Regions from separate parts of the Homo sapiens genome. Here region 2 is linked to region 1. The links are contacts of gene promoters, found by promoter capture Hi-C in blood cells and fetal thymus (Javierre and others, 2016). All regions are on one chromosome and are shown on one strand. The core of a region is centred on a gene start or on the middle of the fragment in contact, and the rest is flanking DNA. Distances in the headings are between cores, read along the strand shown.

The links. Contacts are between HindIII fragments. The CHiCAGO score rates a contact against its expected background, and 5 or more counts as called.
Region 2: a fragment that was not itself captured here is called in contact with the fragment with the promoter of TET2 in region 1 in 6 of 17 cell types (naive B cells, activated CD4 T cells, total B cells and 3 more); the score reaches 7.5 in naive B cells.

What each region holds. Positions count from the first base shown.
Region 1 is chr4:105,144,644-105,149,951 of GRCh38, forward strand. TET2 (tet methylcytosine dioxygenase 2) reads left to right here and starts at 2,233. Exons shown (of 11, transcript NM_001127208.3): 1 at 2,233-2,336. LOC124900868 reads right to left here. Exons shown (of 3, transcript XM_047416559.1): 2 at 852-2,318. The coding sequence ends at 1,630. RefSeq lists silencers at 1,495-2,174, 3,138-3,207 and enhancers at 2,245-2,414, 2,758-2,807. The HindIII fragment of the contact is 4,110 bases long and covers 1-2,461 here.
Region 2 is chr4:105,678,620-105,683,788 of GRCh38, forward strand. ARHGEF38 (Rho guanine nucleotide exchange factor 38) reads left to right here. Exons shown (of 14, transcript NM_001242729.2): 14 at 1-2,295. INTS12 (integrator complex subunit 12) reads right to left here. Exons shown (of 8, transcript NM_020395.4): 8 at 4,008-4,698. The coding sequence ends at 4,114. Among named protein-coding and RNA genes, the nearest start is that of INTS12, 27 kb to the right of the region's middle. The HindIII fragment of the contact is 981 bases long and covers 1,705-2,685 here.

The DNA of each region.
Region 1 (5,308 bases), core at 983-3,482:
GAACTTTATTTCCTGGACTTGAAAAATACATCACAAGCCGGGCGCGGTGGCTCACGCCTGTAATCCCAGCACTCTGGGAGGTCAGGAGTTCCAGACCAGCCTGGCCAATATGGTGAAACCCCGTCTCTATTAAAAATACAAAAAATAGCTGGGCGTGGTGGCGCACGCCTGTAGTCCCAGCTACTCCGGAGGCTGAGGCAGAAGAATCGCTTGAACCCGGAAGGCCGAGGTTGCAGTGAGCCGAGATCGCGCCACTGCACTCCAGCCTGGGTGACAGAGAGAGGCTGTCTCAAGAAAGAAAGAAAAGGAAAGAAAAGAAAGAAAGAAATAAAGATCACAAAGAACTTTCAAACAGCTTAGATTTTAAAGTGCATTAACAATTTCCAAGACCTAAGTGACGCTTTAGTGTACAGCTAGAAAACATGGAATGTCATTCCCACCTGAAATGTTTAAGGGAAAATGTACTATTTCCTTAGTTTGTGCAAAATCTGAAATCTGAGTCAACTTTGTTTCAAAATGGAATAAACAAAGTTTGATTGGACCCACTAAACATTCTTCTTAGCAACAATGCGACACTTGCAAGGAGTTCCCTTTTTCACACTCTTCAAAGAGGAAATATTCCGATTTCGTAAAATTAGGGCTTCGCTTTTAAAAAAAATTACAGACCAAAAAAAGTGTGGTTACACAATATAACTAGTATTGACTTAAGGGTACTGTGATCACCATGCAGTGATCCCATAAAAGATGTGACCAAAATACCCACTTAAAATTTGAACGTCAGTCATGTAAGAACATGTAAAAGATGAAGGGAATATTTCAAAAACGACTATCTGACGTAATATGATACTTACTATGACTCATATGGGCTTTGTTCTTCATCTCATCTTCAAATAAAAAGTTGATGATTAGAAAAAGGAGCATTAGAAGGGGGAAGTAACACTACTCGGCAATAGAGAAAAACTCCGGTCAAAGGAAGAGCATAGTTACAGAGCTCCGAATGTCAGGGAAAATCAAGCATCCGTCATTCGGAATTAGCTCTGTATCGGTCGGTTTCTTCATTACTTAATTGTACGGGGGGAAACTACTTCAAAGTAAGGGCTCTTACGAGAGGCAACTTAAGCATTTGAAAGTGCAGGTTTATTTCCTCCTAGCGAGAAGTAGGGGGTCACTAGTGAGAAACCTATTTCAATCTGTGAGACGCCCCCTTCTACTCAGCCCACGTGGCTAAAGTAAACAGAAGGTGGGCCGGGGCGGGGAGAAACAGAACTCGGTCAATTTCCCAGTTTGTCGGGTCTTTAAAAATACAGGCCCCTAAAGCACTAAGGGCATGCCCTCGGTGAAACAGGGGAGCGCTTCTGCTGAATGAGATTAAAGCGACAGAAAAGGGAAAGGAGAGCGCGGGCAACGGGATCTAAAGGGAGATAGAGACGCGGGCCTCTGAGGGTAAGGTGGGCGCAAGCGGAGGTGTGGTGCGGGGAGAGGTGCCAGTGGGTGGAGGCGGGGGCCAGAGCGAGGGCACGTGCGGGTACACTCCGGAGGAGGTGGGTGCGCGCGGGGGCGTGTGCGCGGGACCTCGAAGTGGTGGTGGAGTGCAGACCAGCAAAAAGTTTCAAAGGGAAATCTTAGATGTCACGTCTTTGTCCAGGCACCCGTGCCATCCCAACCTCCCACCTCGCCCCCAACCTTCGCGCTTGCTCTGCTTCTTCTCCCAGGGGTGGAGACCCGCCGAGGTCCCCGGGGTTCCCGAGGGCTGCACCCTTCCCCGCGCTCGCCAGCCCTGGCCCCTACTCCGCGCTGGTCCGGGCGCACCACTCCCCCCGCGCCACTGCACGGCGTGAGGGCAGCCCAGGTCTCCACTGCGCGCCCCGCTGTACGGCCCCAGGTGCCGCCGGCCTTTGTGCTGGACGCCCGGTGCGGGGGGCTAATTCCCTGGGAGCCGGGGCTGAGGGCCCCAGGGCGGCGGCGCAGGCCGGGGCGGAGCGGGAGGAGGCCGGGGCGGAGCAGGAGGAGGCCCGGGCGGAGGAGGAGAGCCGGCGGTAGCGGCAGTGGCAGCGGCGAGAGCTTGGGCGGCCGCCGCCGCCTCCTCGCGAGCGCCGCGCGCCCGGGTCCCGCTCGCATGCAAGTCACGTCCGCCCCCTCGGCGCGGCCGCCCCGAGACGCCGGCCCCGCTGAGTGATGAGAACAGACGTCAAACTGCCTTATGAATATTGATGCGGAGGCTAGGCTGCTTTCGTAGAGAAGCAGAAGGAAGCAAGATGGCTGCCCTTTAGGATTTGTTAGAAAGGAGACCCGACTGCAACTGCTGGATTGCTGCAAGGCTGAGGGACGAGAACGAGGTCAGAGCGCTTCTCTTATGCCGCGAAACTCTCCCTTTCTTCTCCCCTTCGCTTTTTCTCGGGCTTCCAGGGACTGGGGAGCAAACCCTGTAGTGTCACCCACAAATACCAAGAGGGAAGAGGGAAGCTTCACAAATTACTGGAGCCTCTTCAACATGGCTGACAAATATAGTTTTAATTCCCTCTACCCCTTTTAAACCTGTAGTTCTGTGTTCTCTTCTCTCCTCCTAATGCTCGTCCCCTCATCTCCCAGAAAACTTACCTTTGTGCCTCCGACGAGCCGGTTTCCCGGCCTTTTTTAATCCTCAGAAAAGTGATTTTTAAATTTGCTTTCCTTTCTAAAATAGTTCAGCTTTGGGGGCACTACTTTTCCCTTTAATCCTCTTCCCCTGTTTCTTTCGTGTAAGTGAAACGAGTCTCCCGTTTATCCTGAACAACCTCAGAGAGAACACTGATAGGGTGTTTTTCGACCCTTTTATCAGCTGTAGGGTCTGGGTCTGGGTTTGTGTCTGCCTCCTCCTACCTTCTTATCCCCCTTTAGGGGGCTGTACGAAGTGAATGTCACAGGGAGTGGAATTGGAGTACACTGAGTGGGTTTTTTTTTTCCTTAAGTCCGCGCGTTTTGTTAGCGGCGCTGAGTGAAAGAGGAAAGAATAGTTTCTCTGGTTCCCCAAACAAGACCAGAACTCACTTTTCTCAAGGTACATAAGTCAGCGCTGGGCTGAGCCTTCCAGCCTGGGGAATGTATGTAAGAGAATTTATGGACAAATCTGTGTCCCGGCTTTGTGCTTCTCCCGAATCAGCTTCGTTTGGTTCCTTGGTAAGTGACAGGCAGACACAAAGGCAGGCGCAGGCCCGGGGAGGGGGCGGGAGGGGGTGGGGAGCGCAGCGTTGGAGTTGCAAGACTGCAAGGTCAGGGGCGCCTAAAGAAATGAAACCCAATCCCAGCAAAGAAGTGAAGAGCAGATTTATAACAGTCCCATCCAAATTTCTCTTTGGCTTCTCTCTTTGGTCTTTCATCTCTCTGCCTTTCTCTCTGTGTCTCCTCTCTACTCTTTCTTCTCTCTCTCTCATACACATACACACACACACACACACACACACCTCACTCGCATCTTGCTGAATCTTTTCACTGGGACTGCTTGTCTAGTTTTATTAAGCTAATAGGGTTTGTATGGAGAGTTTTCTACCTATGACATAATGAAGTGTGGCCTGGATAGACTCCTGGAAAGGCCGAAAATGAAATATAAGTGTTATTTGCTGGTTATTCCCCTCATGATATACTTTTAATTACATTGAGGGAGTTCTCCCTTCTTCATCTAATGTTTAAGAATTGAGAAAAGGCTTATTTTCCAGCGGTAAAATTTAGTGCATAAAATTTAGTGAAATATTTATATATTTACGTGTCTAGGGAGTGGAATACATTCATGAATTTAATATCTCAAATCACACATTGTGCTTTTTCCCCTTCAGTCAGGGATTATAATGGGAAACCCAAATTCAAAGATATTCATCAACAAATGATCCATCATAGGAATAAGATTGTATCTTAAGGGAAGTTGGGATTCACAGAGAAAAGACATTGGTTTGGTTTGGTGTGATACTGTGGGTATTGTTGCCTGGCTAATGAAATCATTACATTTGCATTTTAATGGAAAGTTGAAATACTAAGGGGAGTTATGTTCTTTTACATGTTTGTATGTGTGCTTAATAATGTTTGGAATAGAATATAAATTTAAACACAATAAATATTGATTTTTTTAAATGTTAATAAGCAGAGAACGGTTAATGAAGTGTTGGATAATCAAACTGAAGTTTAGAAGACAATTTATAGGATTAAAAAATGGATAGAAGGAAAAACACAATAATAGATATTTCTCCATAAGTCGAATTTCCAAAACTATTTGTCCTCGATAGTTCACTTTGTAACTTTCTATTTTGATCTTTGTTAATTTAATGTAGTTTGCTTTAATCATTGATACGTGGGGTTCTTTCACATGATTACAAGGGAGAAGCATTACTCATCTCTGTGGAATAGAAACGGTTCATTGGTTAGTTCTTATTTGCCCTAAAATTAAAACAAAAATTAGGATTTTACCATTAATGCTGTTCATGGTAAACTATCGAGAAAACTATGGTTAATTATTCCAGCAATTCAGAATTAAAAACAATTCCTTTTGCTAACAAACTAATATTTACTTTTTGGGGACAACTTTTCAAATGTTGTGGTATATACTGTCTTCAGGCTACTCAACTAATAATAGATACAACATTTTCCACTCAATAAATAAGAATAACTACATTGGTTAATAATTTTGAATACAACTATGAAGGCTTGTTTTTTCCTGTCATCAAATTTAGATTCTTGTTATTTTGTGCATCCTACTTTTATACTGAAAATAGCTGCTAATTAATACTGTATAAAGTATTTCAGTGATTATAAGGAAGAGATGTGTATGTTAGTCACTTTATCCTTTGTTGGAAAAGAGAAATTATTTTAATAAGTATGGGGTAGTTTACAATAAAAGACATAACCTCAGTTCTTTCTTTACCATATATGTGATCATACTACCTAGGTGCTCCAAAAATTCCATAGGACTGTCTTGGGTTATTGAATTTTAGGAACATGATAATGGACAATAACAAGATAGATAGCTTTTCTTAACTATGACATTGTTTTGCTTATTTTCTTATTGAACTAATCATCAATGAGAAATTAAGTTGCAGTGAGAGAAATCCCTTGCTTTGTTTAAATTGTCATATTTGCCAAACTCTTCTTAAGGCTTTAATTAGGTCTGATGTGCCAGTTTATGCCAGAAGCCGGAGGAATTGATATGATTTTGAGGCAGTGGCACATGGTCCTACTAGACATTGGCAAGTGAATATCACTTCCAGAACAAGTGAAGTGCACCTGCCAAGGAGTTGTTATGAAAGAATTCCAAAGTCCTTATTGGGCACTGGTCTTGTATTAG
Region 2 (5,169 bases), core at 945-3,444, 530 kb after region 1:
CTTGTTTAATATTCAAAACATTATGAAGAAACCATGGCCCAAAAAGGTGAAGTAATTTAATCCAAATCACATTGCTATTAAGTGGTGGGCCTGGACTTAAACCTAGGTAGTGTAAACCAAAAATAAAATTCTAAGGCTTCCAACCATCTAAATAGACTTCCCCTTCAGCCAGGGCTTTTTTCTTTCTTTTCTTGTTGTTTTTTTTTTTTTTTAAAGAGACAATAAAAGGAGGTTTTTTTATTCAAAGGTATAACTGGATAAGTAGATTTGTTTACAATCATTCTTGTGAAATACTTTTTTAAAAAAATACGATCAACTTCTTTGCAAATAGTAGACACATACCTCAACAATGATGACCTAATTTTTGATCCATAATGTAAGATTAGGTAGAAATAGGCAAGCTCACACTGCTAAATTAACTATCAAATACTCAGTCAAAACTCCATTTGTGGCCCCCACTTCTTGATCTATTTCTGTTCCACTTCGTCTTCTACCATCTTGCCGACTTTCCTGAGCAACTGCTTTGTCGACTCTCTCTACCTGACCAATTGCCAGATCGACAACCTGACTGGCCTGACCAGCCACTCCTCTGTCTGGAATTAAAAGATGTTTCCATCATAATATTCTTTAATTTCAGGTAATTTAGCTGGCACTGAGAGTATCCAGCCGGAATCATGCCACTTTGCCTGTAACCTTTGACTCAATTGGAGGAATATCAAAGCAAACACCCATATTTCCTTTCAGGAGGCACACTCTGGTAATCTGAGACACTGCATTACTATTCAGCTTTCTAAGTTCTTTCCAAGCACAGCTGACATCCTGTATTTCCTCTAGGCTTTCCAGAGTCATGGTCACAAACCCCTTATCAGAGTTGATTAAAGATCATGGTTCAAAGCTTGATACACCAGAAATGTGGGCTAAAGCTGCAGCCAATGCATCTATCGCCCCTTTCTCTTCTATCAGTATCTGAGCTGATGGTTGGAAAAAAATCAACAGCAGCATAAGAAATGGAAGCCAGAGACCTTATGGCATCCATGCTTTTAAATTTAACTAAATCCATTGTAGAAGGAACACCTACACATTTAAAAGTAATTTGTGTTTTTTGTTCCACATGTCTTAGTTGACCTTTCTCTTGGTTGATAAAAACATATACAAACCCCTGTCTGTCCAGCTTTACCCACGCATCCAGAGAGATGGATATAGGACTCAATATCCTGAGGAGGAGAACTTTGAATCACCAGGTCAACTACAGGAATGTCCAAACCACGAGGAGCCACATTGGTTGCCACCAAAACTTTATAATTACCTCTCTGAAGCCTTTTAGTGTAATTTCTCTTTGTGACTGTGCAATGTCCCCATGTAAACACAGTGCATTCTGTTTTGTGCGGATTCATGGCCATGTCAGTTACATTCTTCTTCGTCTCACAGAAAATAATAGCCCTCCCTTCAGATCCACTGTAGACTTGAAGGACATCTCATTTTCATCTGTGTTTTATAAAGGAGGAAATTGAGGACCTCACATGGAGGGACTGGAATTTAAAACCAGGTCTTCTGACTTTAAGGCCTTTCTTTTAGTGTTTTCCCTTTTCTTTTCCTTAAGTCACTAAAATCTGTAGTTATATAATCTTACATAAAGCATATGCAAAATAGAAAAATGATAGTCACCACATATCTACTAATGGGATTAAAATGTACAATCCTAAAAGCTTACTTGTTAGCACACTTGCTTATCTGTCCATTCATTCATTGAACCAGTAAGTATTTATTGAGAGTTAGTGGGAATACAATGCTGTGCAAGACAAACAAGATCCCTCCATTCATACCACTTAAATTCTAGTGGGGAAAACATCTGCACATAACAAACTAAATAAAATGATCATAAAATAATAAATGCTATTTATATAAAACTGGCTACTTTCATTACTGCTCAGTTAAAGGGTCTTGTAGCTCATTTTATGACATGAAAAAAATCAAGGTCTAAAAGCTCCTTGAGACAATTTAAACTCTAATACCAAATATACCTCTATAAAATACCAAACTGAGCTAAATACGGTATATGTGTACTTATACATATGTACATAACCTAAATATACGTGTGCACACATTATCTATACAAAGAGCCATACTCAGTGAAAGATAAATTACCTCCTAAACTAAAGTCCCCTCTGAGGTACAACAGAAATTAAAATAATTGCTTCTCTTCTCAACTCTATGTAGCACGTATTTTCCATGATGGGATAAATGTTTTCATTTCAAGTGCCAATGTGTGAACTGTAATAAACATTACTGCTTTCATTTTTTGTAGGTATGGAGGTTACATTAACTGTTATAGTTGCGGAGCTGAGTTTTTATGTCAGGTAATTTTGTTTAGTCCAAACTGGTTTTGAACTATAAACAATTATGGATATGTATTTTTTGGTTTCTTTGACCCCAAAGGGAAATTGGGGTTTATGTCAAATTGATGTTTTATCAAAATAAATCTGTTTCTCAAAGCAAAAGTCTCTGTAGGATTGAGATAATTCATTATTTACATATAGGGTAAACAGACATTTACTGCCTATTGAGATCATAATTGAGATAATGGATTATCTCAATCCTGGATTCTAATTTACTACAAATAATTTAGCACCATTATTTAACAGAGCAGTTTAAAATAATAATCTTTCCTTAAAAAAAAAAAGACCAAGCTTAATTTTAAAAGCTTTGTGTTTACAGAGATCACCTATCAATATACTTTAGAATAATGATGTTAGAAAAACCTAGGGATTAAGGAAGACAGTTTGAGATTAGAGATTTGTAGAGTGAAGATTTAGTAGCACAAATCAAGTTTGATGGAACAGGCTGTTCATAGTCTTGTGAATGTGTGAATTTGTTGGATATCCAGTTTTTTTGCTGTGAATAATAAACTGTTTCTCTGATGCAGAGGGCTTCCTATCTTCTCTCAGAATATACATGTACAACAATTGCTGGTTAATTTGTTAGCTTGCAAGTAAGACAACAACGCAGACCTTCCACATTTTCTGACTTAACCCACTTATGCCTAGTGTTCCATTATTGCAATGCTCGGCTTATAGAGTTATTTATATCCTACTGTTCAAGGTCATCATCAGGTCTGATTTTTCACCAAAAAAATTTGCAACCTCTGGCATAAATGGGTTAACAATGTACAAAACAATCTCAAGAATTAATCATTATATAGGAGCTTATTGTATACAAAGTTAGCTAAAATTAGGTAAAGTGCTATAACATTTTGAGCACTAAGTAAGATAGCCTTTTCTTTCATGGTATAGGAAGAAGCCATCAGTGTGTGAACAAGTCATATATTTCCATCTGCAAAGACCTTTGTGAAATGGTATTTTTCTTCAAAACTTATCAGGAATGTGCATAACCAAGATGAATCAAAATTCAACATTTATTACGTACTATGTGCATGTATTACATTGGCAATGTAGGAAAAGTGAGCAATGTGAGAAAAAATATTGTATTAAGCACCAGGAGAGTTCACAATTTATTGGAAAAAGATATACCCTTAAATAATTGAAATGAGGTGATAAAAAAGGTAAAGATATAATATGAAGTATGATAAATCAATTAGGAAAATCCATTGATATGAGAAATCAATAATGAAAAAATAATTTTGAAAAAGATGAAATAATTGGGAGGGAGAGGGAGAGTCAGTTGAAATGGGGCTAGCACAGAAAATGAACACCCAGAATACGGGGAGGAAAATAGAAAACTATGTTGGGTCGTCCCTGCCGCCACATAAGGCACCTCATTCATCAGGATCAACTCTTGGGGCTTTGCTAGAAGATGAACTATTTCTTTTTCCTTAAATTCACAGATGCTTTCAATCTTCTGAAGATCTCATTGAGAACCAGTCATTCTAATCATTGTTTTCACACACTATGGAAATCATTAGAATAAAAATGTTGAAGATTGATTTAAAATGAAAGTTTCCAAGTTTTGTTATATAATATTTAGCATTTTAAGGTAAGAAACAATAGAAATTTGATTATGAAGACTTTTATTAAATTACAGTGTATTACAGATTATATCATAATAATAAGCCTTTCATCTTTAGGCTAATATGATACAAAAACCTACTTGGCCACATTACTTCTTGAGTTTCTTTTGGGCAGCTTTCTTCTTGACCATCTGTAATCGCTTCATAGCATTGAGCTGTGATTCTTGTGAAGTTGGGCCTTTAAGGGATGCTGAGGGAGAGCTGCTGGATTCTGAAGTAGTTTTGCTGGTAGTACTTCCACTAGGTCCTGATGTTCCACTATTTCCATTCCCACTTAGTTGGCTGCTGCTTCCTGGAACTAAACTACTTGGACTAGGAAGACCTACTTTGCTGACATTGTCACAACTAACTGAGCGACTAAGGCCAGTTTTACCCAAGGTTAGAGGTGGAGGTGGTTTTAAAGGTACAGTGGGCGTAGTGCTGTTATTGGAACCTATTTTGGAACCTATTCCACCTTTGGATGATGTTGCCAGACCAGTCAAACCCACAGGTTTCTGGTTAGCTGACGAAGTAGCAGGTTTCCCAGTATTGTTTTGTGTTGTTGAACTCAATTTTGCTGTTGAAGGACCAGCAGAGGAAGTTTTGGCTGCAAAAGCTGCCCATCCAGTTAAGCCACTAGTTACTGACGAGGAAACGCTGGCACTAGAAGAATTTCCTGAAATAACTGTGGATGTCTAAAAAAATAAAGTAAATAATTACATTAGAGCCAAGTTTAATCAGTACCTGTATAAACATCCCAAGTTATGAATTGGGAAATTTAAATCACACCACCAAATTAGGTTCTTATGAAGCTGATCTGAAAAACCACACAGAACAAAACTTATCTGTATCTAGTGGGTATTATCATTTGCAAAGCAGAAAATTTTTGATACCATATTCTTGTTCTAATGATTCCAAAAGAAAATATATGAAATTCCTTTTTGGGAATTGCTTTTAGATTCAATTCTAAGCTATATCTGAAAACCAGATTTAGTGCTTTAACATAGTTTTTACCCAACAAAGTATTATCGACCTTAGTTAAACATCTAATTCTTTTAGACTTTTCTCCAAATAACTAGGGATCATTTCAAAAATTTAATTCACTCTTAATAGCAAAAATGCCCATACCCAGAATATTCAGGAGAACATATCCAAGATGAAGAGAT